2 separate regions of the Homo sapiens genome follow, and region 2 is linked to region 1. The links are contacts of gene promoters, found by promoter capture Hi-C in blood cells and fetal thymus (Javierre and others, 2016). All regions are on one chromosome and are shown on one strand. The core of a region is centred on a gene start or on the middle of the fragment in contact, and the rest is flanking DNA. Distances in the headings are between cores, read along the strand shown.

The links. Contacts are between HindIII fragments. The CHiCAGO score rates a contact against its expected background, and 5 or more counts as called.
Region 2: a contact is called between the fragment with the promoter of WDR48 here and a fragment that was not itself captured in region 1, in 8 of 17 cell types (total CD8 T cells, naive B cells, M1 macrophages and 5 more). The highest score is 8.7, in total CD8 T cells.

Annotation. Positions count from the first base shown.
Region 1 is chr3:38,517,551-38,521,715 of GRCh38, forward strand. The region is part of intron 5 of EXOG (exo/endonuclease G); the gene reads left to right. Among named protein-coding and RNA genes, the nearest start is that of EXOG, 23 kb to the left of the region's middle. The HindIII fragment of the contact is 592 bases long and covers 1,445-2,036 here.
Region 2 is chr3:39,049,385-39,053,905 of GRCh38, forward strand. WDR48 (WD repeat domain 48) reads left to right here and starts at 2,632. Exons shown (of 19, transcript NM_020839.4): 1 at 2,632-2,689. The coding sequence starts at 2,642. It overlaps SCN11A (sodium voltage-gated channel alpha subunit 11), which reads right to left and starts at 2,560. Exons shown (of 30, transcript NM_001349253.2): 1 at 2,477-2,560. RefSeq lists enhancers at 1,793-2,665, 2,336-2,425, 2,436-2,485, 2,506-2,695 and a silencer at 2,736-2,835. The HindIII fragment of the contact is 5,994 bases long and covers 1,159-4,521 here.

The DNA of each region.
Region 1 (4,165 bases), core at 491-2,990:
TGTTTGGTTTGTCAGGTGTGTTCACCACATTTATTTTTAGCCTTTTGTAGTGGATGGAGAGAGCCCCAAAGCTCGTAGTATATGGATTCCATTGCCTTTAGTGGCTCACTGTTGAGAAGGCCTTTCTCCTCTGCTTTCTGTGTTCTTGTATTTCAAAACAGGGATTGACAGACACTGGTCATTAGGAAAGCAGTTCACTGTGTTTGTACATTGTGTATGTATATGTAAAGTTGAATATTGACTTCACGAATCCATATTTCTGGAGGAGCATATGGTTTTTCAGTTTTCTCAGAAGCATATCAAACTGACATCTACTTTTATATATTTATGTTTTTCACTAACAAATATCTCCATAATAATACTGCTTTTATTAGTTTTGGCATTATATTTCAAGTCAAACTTTATTTCAGGTAGAATTTTAAACCTAAAAATCTTTGGTGTATCTGTTAGATGAAAGCAAAATATAGTTTGTTAGTAAAATAAATTTGAAAAATTATCTTGAAATTCTTGCCAAGAATTTAATTGGGCCCAAATTTTTATATATATGCACACACACATGTATCTATAAACTTGGGAGAATTTGGTTAAGAAATAGAGATGTGGGAGGTCTACCTAGGCAAGGTGAAGAGATGAGAAGCGATAGGATATATGCTGAGAAAACAGTTAAGTTAGAGCGTTCATGTAGGGAAGGAGACAAAAATAAAAGGAAAGTTTGGGGCCTGGTGGCAGAAACTTCAAATGACCAGCTAAAAAGTTTAGGCAAGAACTTCAAGATAATTTTCTAGCAAGCAGGGCCTTTGAAAAGTAGGCAATTAATTATAAAACAAATATAGATAAAATGATGTCCTTTAATTATTCTGGGAAAGGGGACACAGCATTGCCCAGTGCTGGAGACTGGTCTGTTTCTCTCAAGCAACGAATAATTTGAATCATGAATTCCCACTTTCAAGGCAATGTCTTGCAATTACGTACGGCAATTCAGAGTGCTTGGAAAGTGTTTTGTTTTCTCAGATCTAGCCATTTAATATTTACTGCTTGCTTACAACTATACTCTGAACCTTATTTTAGGAAGTTGTACCCAATAAAAGGGTTTATTTAGTTTTCTGTCCAGGCAATGAAGCATATATGTGTTTTTACTTTGGGGGAAGTAAAGCAAATGAACTGGCATTTCTTGAGGGCCAGGTATACCAGGCAGTATGTAAGTAGCTTTATATATGCATCTCATTCAATCTTCACTACACCCTTACAAAAAAAGTAGTGACCATTTTCTTTTATAGACAAGAAAATCAAGGCTTTAAGGATCAAGTCTCAGGCATATAGCTTATAATTGTCAAAGAGGGTATCCAAACATGGGTCTGTCTGACAATTGCCAGTCATTCACAGTGTTACTCTTTGAAGCGCTCAAGTTTATAGTAAATGAATTGCTGTGCTGTTCATATACAAAAGCTTAAGGTTAGCAGATAATAAAAGATGGTGTGGATGGAGAGAGGAGTTACAAGTGATACTTGCTAGCATGCAAAAATAACAGAAAATGGGCCAAGAGGAGGATTCCTTATAGCCAGGCAGAAATGTCTGTTAGAATATGTAGGAAAGGATCACATCATCATAGAACTTGAGTGAATATGAGCCTAAGGGAAGATTCGTAGCAGTGATTTTATCAGAAGTGAGTCATCTGACAGTTCTAATCAGAATCACCCCCTTTATTATATAGCTGAGGTCATCCCTGTGCTTTCTCTGATGTTCCTGTTTCAAGAAGAGGTTGATTCCAGACAAGTGAAACATACCTGAAGATTCTGGTTTGGACATTATAAATGGTCTGACAAGAAAGTGAGCTTCAGATTTTAGAACTCAGTGATGGTGGTAATGTTAGAAATATTTAACAATCTGTGTTCTTTTATAACAGCACTTTGCAAACTTCCATTATACTAACCCTAAAGGGGAGGAAATTGAAAATGCCCTCAGGAGTCTTGAGACATCATTTGAAGTGATATGGGAGTAATATTTTTTTTTAAGTCTCTTGCTTTATATTTAGGGAAAGCTTTTGTTCATTTCCATATCTATTTGTTTTAATGAAAGTTAAATTATTTTACTGGTTGTCTCCCTACCCTCACCCTAAATTTTCAAGTACCATTGACAGCCTAGAAAGAGGGTGCTTGTTTTACTGTGACTTAGTAGGCTGCTACCCTTTGGCCTGGAACAGGTACCCCAGTGTGAGAAGTACCGTCTTCCAGGGTTTGTGCTGCCACAAAAGCATCTGCTGAGGCTCTATAGATAACACAGGGGGCGACCACATTCTTGTTGACTTTACCACACTTTGTGACTCCCTCACTTTTCATGTTCCTTCCCCCCCTCAGGTTCGGATTTCCTGTTTATCAAACTCCCATGGTTTCTTTCTTTCACTTGATCGGCATGACTTTTTAAGGGCGTGGTCTCTTGATCTGTCCCTCTAGTTTTATTTTTGGAGTTTCTTTTTTTGTCTTACCAGGGGAATGTAACCAAATATATCTATCTAATTCTAGCAGGTACATATTTTTTCCTCTTGATGCTGCTTAATATTTTATTGGAGGCACATTTACAGTATGTATGACCTTACAAATGGCAGGCTTAATATGGGTATTGTTTGTTTTGGGTCTCTTCTGGGTCTGGGTGGCACAGGTGGTGGTGGCAAATTGTCATTTCTGTCTCTTGGATGGAAGGAAACAAGCTCAGGCCAGTATATAAGAAAACTAGCTTCAGGTTGCGAATGAGTGCCAGCTTATGTATTGTATTTTCTAGTTAACTCCCAGTTGACTTCCAATTTTTGCTACAGTCTTGAGTAGAGTTCAGTGCTTCTTGGGAATTTAATAGCAGCAAGGGTTTCCTTTGCAAAATATTTTTATACCTAAATCTTACATGAAAAGGGTTGTTTGCTGACTCACTGATTAACTAGACTTGGTTTATGTTAAGCCTTTGAGTCCTTTGTTACAGACATCATTTGTGCCCAAGTTGCTTTCTCCTCCTGAAACCCCATTGCTGACCTGTAACTAGTCTAATCTTGCTTGATTATACGTTTCCCCCGCCCCCATCCCTCTGTAAAACCATCTTTTGTACCAAATGCCGTTGTATCTTTTGAATGATGTCCACTACAAAATAGCTTTTTACATAGATCTTGTAGATTTTGAAAAATTTTTAACTAACATGTCATTGTATCTTCATAACAATTCTATGAGAGAGGCATTTATAAAATACAAAATAGCAATCCACCCACGGGGATGGCTGTTACGTATTTTGTAAATGAAGAAACAAGAAATGGGTGGACGCGACTTGCAGCTTAGTGGCAAAGCCAGGTTTGACCAGGTCTCTGGGCTTCCAGTCCACCAAACCTCTAGTAGTGTTTAGAAACATTTCTGGAAGTCTCCCAATTTTTCCAAAAGTAGGAAAAATTTATTATGTAGATTGAGTTGTCTTTAAAGAGACAGCTCTAAAATATTTTACGATTGATGTTGTTTTAAAAAATTGTCTTAAATTCAAGGAAGAAACGGTGTGTTTTTCTGAATACCCAACTAGGACCTGTCCCTATATTAGACAGATTAAAGATGTTTGCTTCCTAAGAACAAAGCAGACTGAATCAGAAAAGAGATTAGTGAGTGGCTAAGTTTTTATTTTTCTCCTTAGTTCTAGGGATAGTATTTTACCCCCTTGAAATAGTGTGAGAAGGTCATGGGTAGAAGGATCACACCTGTGATTCCTAATAGGAATTTCTGTTTCCATGAGGTTTCTCAAAAGTAGAATCGAGGTCCTTTAGCAATTGTAAGAGTTTTTAAACACCTATAGAAATGGTACATTTGCATAAAGTAAAGCTGTAGAACTGAAAATGTCCAACGTCTTTACTTTTGGCTGGAATTTTACGAGCCTGATTAGCTCTGCATGGCAGCAATGGGCATGTTAATTATATTTGAAAATTGCCGTTTGTTTGTAGACAAGGAGTCCATGAGGAGAGAAAATCAAGTGAATGTTCTTGAACTGTACTGCAGTGATGGGGAATGTCCACAAGGTGGCGCAAAGACTTTGTTTAACTGCTGGATTCCTAGCTAGCACCTGGAATACTTGAAGCCCCTTTCACCTTCTCCCTCTTTGCAAACTATGGCTCAGCTGCATCTGTGCCCTCAGTTCTGGTCCCCAGCTT
Region 2 (4,521 bases), core at 1,382-3,881, 530 kb after region 1:
TGATAGTGTCTAAAGCACTGAGTAATTCCCTAGATGGTGGTGTCAGCGGAAGTACAGTGAGCAGGGAAAGCAAATCTCAATCTAGAATAAACATATTTTAGAGAGGACAAATAAGAACTCCCTCAATGATGGGGAGGGCCAATGACCAATGGAATAGACTTGCCTACATGTGACTGGCTGACCCTCCCAGAGCATGGGGTATTGGTCACTGCTTCTGAACACCCAGCGGTGGCTTGGTGATCCCATGCATAGCTCCAATCCTGTTGCCATTGCCATTGCCATTTATTTCATGATTCTACTGAGCAGGCAGTGAGGCTGAGTTTCATCACAAAGCAGTTCATTTCATCCATATGATTCTTAAGATTTATTCTGAGAGGTCCATCACTATATCCCTTCTGGAGTCTTCCTTGTCACTAGTTCTCCAGTCTTGCTCTTTCCATGTCCTTCACAAACTGGCCAAAAAATTATCCTCTGACCCTGAATTGACCATTTCTCCTTTCAGCCAAACTGAACATCAAAACATACTGGTGAAAATTCTGCCCACTGAAAGAACTTCACTATTTCAATATTTTTCAGGTCCAAAGCAGGACTACAACATATCAATTTCTAGCAAGTACCAGTATATTGTCCAGAGCAACATACCTGTATTGTATTTTGCACATCATAGGTGCTCAATAGACACTTAAGCAATTTTTAAAATACAGACATATTATTTCCCTACCTGTATTTCAACAGCTTCCCATTGGTCTAAAAGATCCTGCTGGGTATGGCCTCTGCATACTCCTTTCACTTCTCTGTACTCTAAGCCTTGACTCTCAGTTCCTGTAATGTTCCATGCTCTCTCCTGCTACAAGACCTTTGCTCAGACTGTTCCCTCTCCTTGCCTAGTTAACTCTTGACTCAAGATACTTCCTGTCTTACAATCATCTTTCTTCATAGTACTTATCTCTGTATTAATTCCTGTCTCATCCTGGGACTCTAAGTTCTATGACTATGTGCACTCACCACTGATTCCCCAACACCTAATATAGTGCCTGGCATATATGATATGCTAAATAATATTTTGTTAAATGAATGAATACATGAATCAGTGAATGAATAAGCCTGTAATGATGCAGTAATTTACCTATAAGTTATCACTGCCAGTTTTGCTTAAGAAGCTTTCTGCCATCACAATTTTTACTCATCTAATTCACATTTCTTTATTAATTTAAGAAGTATTTGTCAAGACAACTTTTCTAAGCATTACTTATATACTAGCACTATGCAACAGAAATTTGTGACCACATATGTAATTTTAAATATTCTAATATCCATGACAAAATTAATAAATTTTATTTAGCCTAATATACCCCCAAACATCATTTCAACATGAAATCAATACAAAAAATTATTAATGAGATATTTTACATTCTTTTCTTCAAACTAGTCTTTGAAATTTGGGGGTAGTTTACAATTACATATCTCAACTGGAACTAGCTATATTTCAAGTGCTCAAGAGCCACAAATGACTAGCAGATACATCATATGCTATATCCCACAGTGTAGTTCTATAGGATTCACTTTCACTAGAGAGGGTCTGATCACCCTCAGCTCTTATAATTAGTGGTCAGGAAAACCACCTTAAGTCAAACCTAACTGTTCCAGTATAAGAGATGATTTAAACTAGAATTGTCTCTGGGAACAATTTTAGCTGGTGTACCGTTTTCGCCTTCCTATAACATCTTTTTGTCTTGTTTTTTTTTTTTAAACTTTTAAGTTCAGGGGTACAAGTGCAGGTTTGTTATATAGGTAAACTTGTGTCACGGGTGTTTGTTGTACAGGCTATTTTGTCACCCAGGTATTAAGCCTAGTACCCATTAGTTATTTTTCCTGATCCTCGCCCTCCTCCCACCCTCCACCCTCCGAAAGGCCCCAGTGTGTGTTGTCCCCCTCTTTTGTGTCCATGTGTTCTCATCATTTAGCTCCCACTTATAAGTGAGAACGTGCGGTATTTGGTTTTCTGTTCCTTTGTTAGTTTGCTTAAGGATAAGGGCCTCCAGCTCCATCATGTCCCTACAAAGGACATGATCTCGTTCTTTTATGGCCCCACTTTTTATCCTTTTAATTTAAACGGATTCTTTGCTCCCCCTGAAGATGGAGGCCACCTCCTTTGCAAGGACTTCTATCTCTCCCCCTTTGAGGCCACGACATAATTCTCCGCATTTTTAGGTACTTAACAGTAAATCACTTGGTTCACTTGGTTCTCCTGCCTGCCTAGGAAAGGTCAGGAGATGGTCCAGCGCCATGTCTAGCACTGTTAATTCTTTCAGTGCTTTCGTTTTGCTTGGGCCTCTCGGGGAGGGCGCGGAAAAGAGCGCAAGCCAGGGTCTAGGACCACACAAGTGAATTCGTGTTGCTCCCTCAGCCCTGAAAAGTGGCTCTCTCCCCATCAGCATTATACTTGCACAGTGGTTTTGTTTTTAGGTGCATCTACCTCATCACATGGCTACCGGCCACACAGCAACTAACAGCACCGAGGAAACACAACAGCCTGTTTACCTTCAGCCCCGCCACTAACCCTTGGCCAAAGGGAAAGGGGCAGGACATCCTCCCGCTCTGAGCCACCTCCGGAAGTGACGTCGGAGTGTCAACATGCAAGATGGCGGCCCATCACCGGCAGAACACAGCAGGGCGGAGGAAAGTGCAGGTATGGAAGCCCGGTTCCTCGGTCTTCCGGACGCGGCCGGCAGCTCCGGGCCCACTCCAGCTAGAAGGTGCCCGGCGCCACGACCAGCTGGGGTAGCGGCATGGGGCGAACGGGGCGGGGCGCGGCCGGCCACGAGGGGTGGGGCCGCGGCGCTAACGGCTTGAGGAAGGGGCGGGGGTCGGCTTGCTTGGCCCTTGGGGCCCAGGCCCGGGACCCTCGTGGGCGGCATTCTGAGCCCGGGATTGCTTGTCGCCGCTCTTCTGTAGGAGTGGACTTGCGGGGTCGGGATAGGCTCGTTCCCCGCCCACTTGCCTCCCCCTTGCCCTGTCTTTCTTCGAAGCGCTCTGCCCTCGCTGCGTCGGAGCCGAGGCCTCCAGGGGTTTCCCAGGGGGGTGGGCGTTGGAGGAGTGAGCGGCTTGTGCGGGGGCGTGGCGAGGCGGCGGAGCGCCAACGGCCCTGCGGGGTTTCTGCTGAGGATTCCGCACTTGGGAGCCCCCAGCCCTCTCTTATGTGGGAGCTGTCCCCTGGGTAGGTTTAAGTGACATAAGAATGTGCGTGGGGAAATTATAATTTTAATTGTTTTGGTATTTAAGTTCCTCTTCACCATTTCTTCATCTTAAGTGTGCATCGCTGAATCTGTCTTTATTGTTTGTGTAATTTATTGTCCATGTGGTAAAGAGTTGTCTAATCTTACCGTGTGTGTCTTGTGCCTTATGCCTTTGTGAATTCACTTTTGTTTGCGGTTACGCTTAAGAGTTACTGCCACTTCGGGGAACATCACACACCGGGGCCTGTCGGGGGCTGGGGGCGCTAGGGGAGGGATAGCATTAGGAGAAATACCTAATGTAAATGACGAGTTGATGGGTACAGCAAACCAGCATGGCACACGTATACCTATGTAACAAACCTGCACGTTGTGCACATATATCCTAGAACTTAAAGTATAATAATAATATTAAAAAATAGTTATTGCCACTTAATATTTTCAGTGATGCAGGGAATAAAAGCCCTCTTACAGGTGTTTGCCTGCAGGTATATTGTATGTGGTAGTGGCAGTTTGGTGCATTTATTCATTAAACATTTACCTAGCACTTAGGGTGGCCCCCAAAGGGGAAAAGGGATTGAAAGGGTGTAGAAATAATTAACACCTAGGCTTTCTTTATAAAACACAGCATTATATGGAGTTCTGCGGGTTGAAATCAAGTGTCAGATAAAGGTAGTTAGATGAAGGGGTCCTTCAGTAAGGTAATCCCAGCAGAAGGTGGTAGGCCATAAAGTCTTCTGATTAGTTCACATCTTGGTTTTATTGATCTCACTGATCAGTACAGTGTCTTAAGCACTCACTGGATGTTTGTTGAAATGAGTGAAATTAATAAGTCTAAACTCACCCTATTAGGTGTTTTTCAGTGCATTAGTGATAGGATTTAAGTATCACCAGCATCCAAGGCAGGTAGTGAGAATGTCTCCTTGGGACTGAAATATAACTCAAAAAGTAACCCGATTGTATTATAGACTCTATGGTGGTGTACATCTTAGGAGAGTAAGGGTAGTTAATCAGGCCTTTCAGTTTATTGCATTAAGACTTAAAACTCCTATTACTGCAGTGTGTTCCCTGCTTGCTTCCTTCCCAGGCCTGCCCACTCCCAAAATGCATGCAATAAAGTATATATATTTTAAAAAGACTTACAAGGCAATTGTACTAGTATGGGATGGAGAAAATGTAAATTAACTGCAGCAGGTTTGGAAAAACAGTGTTCCAATAGGCTGAATGTGAGCCAGTGCACGTAGAATGAGGCAGGTGATAGATAATTCCACTTTTCACTGGTCAAAGT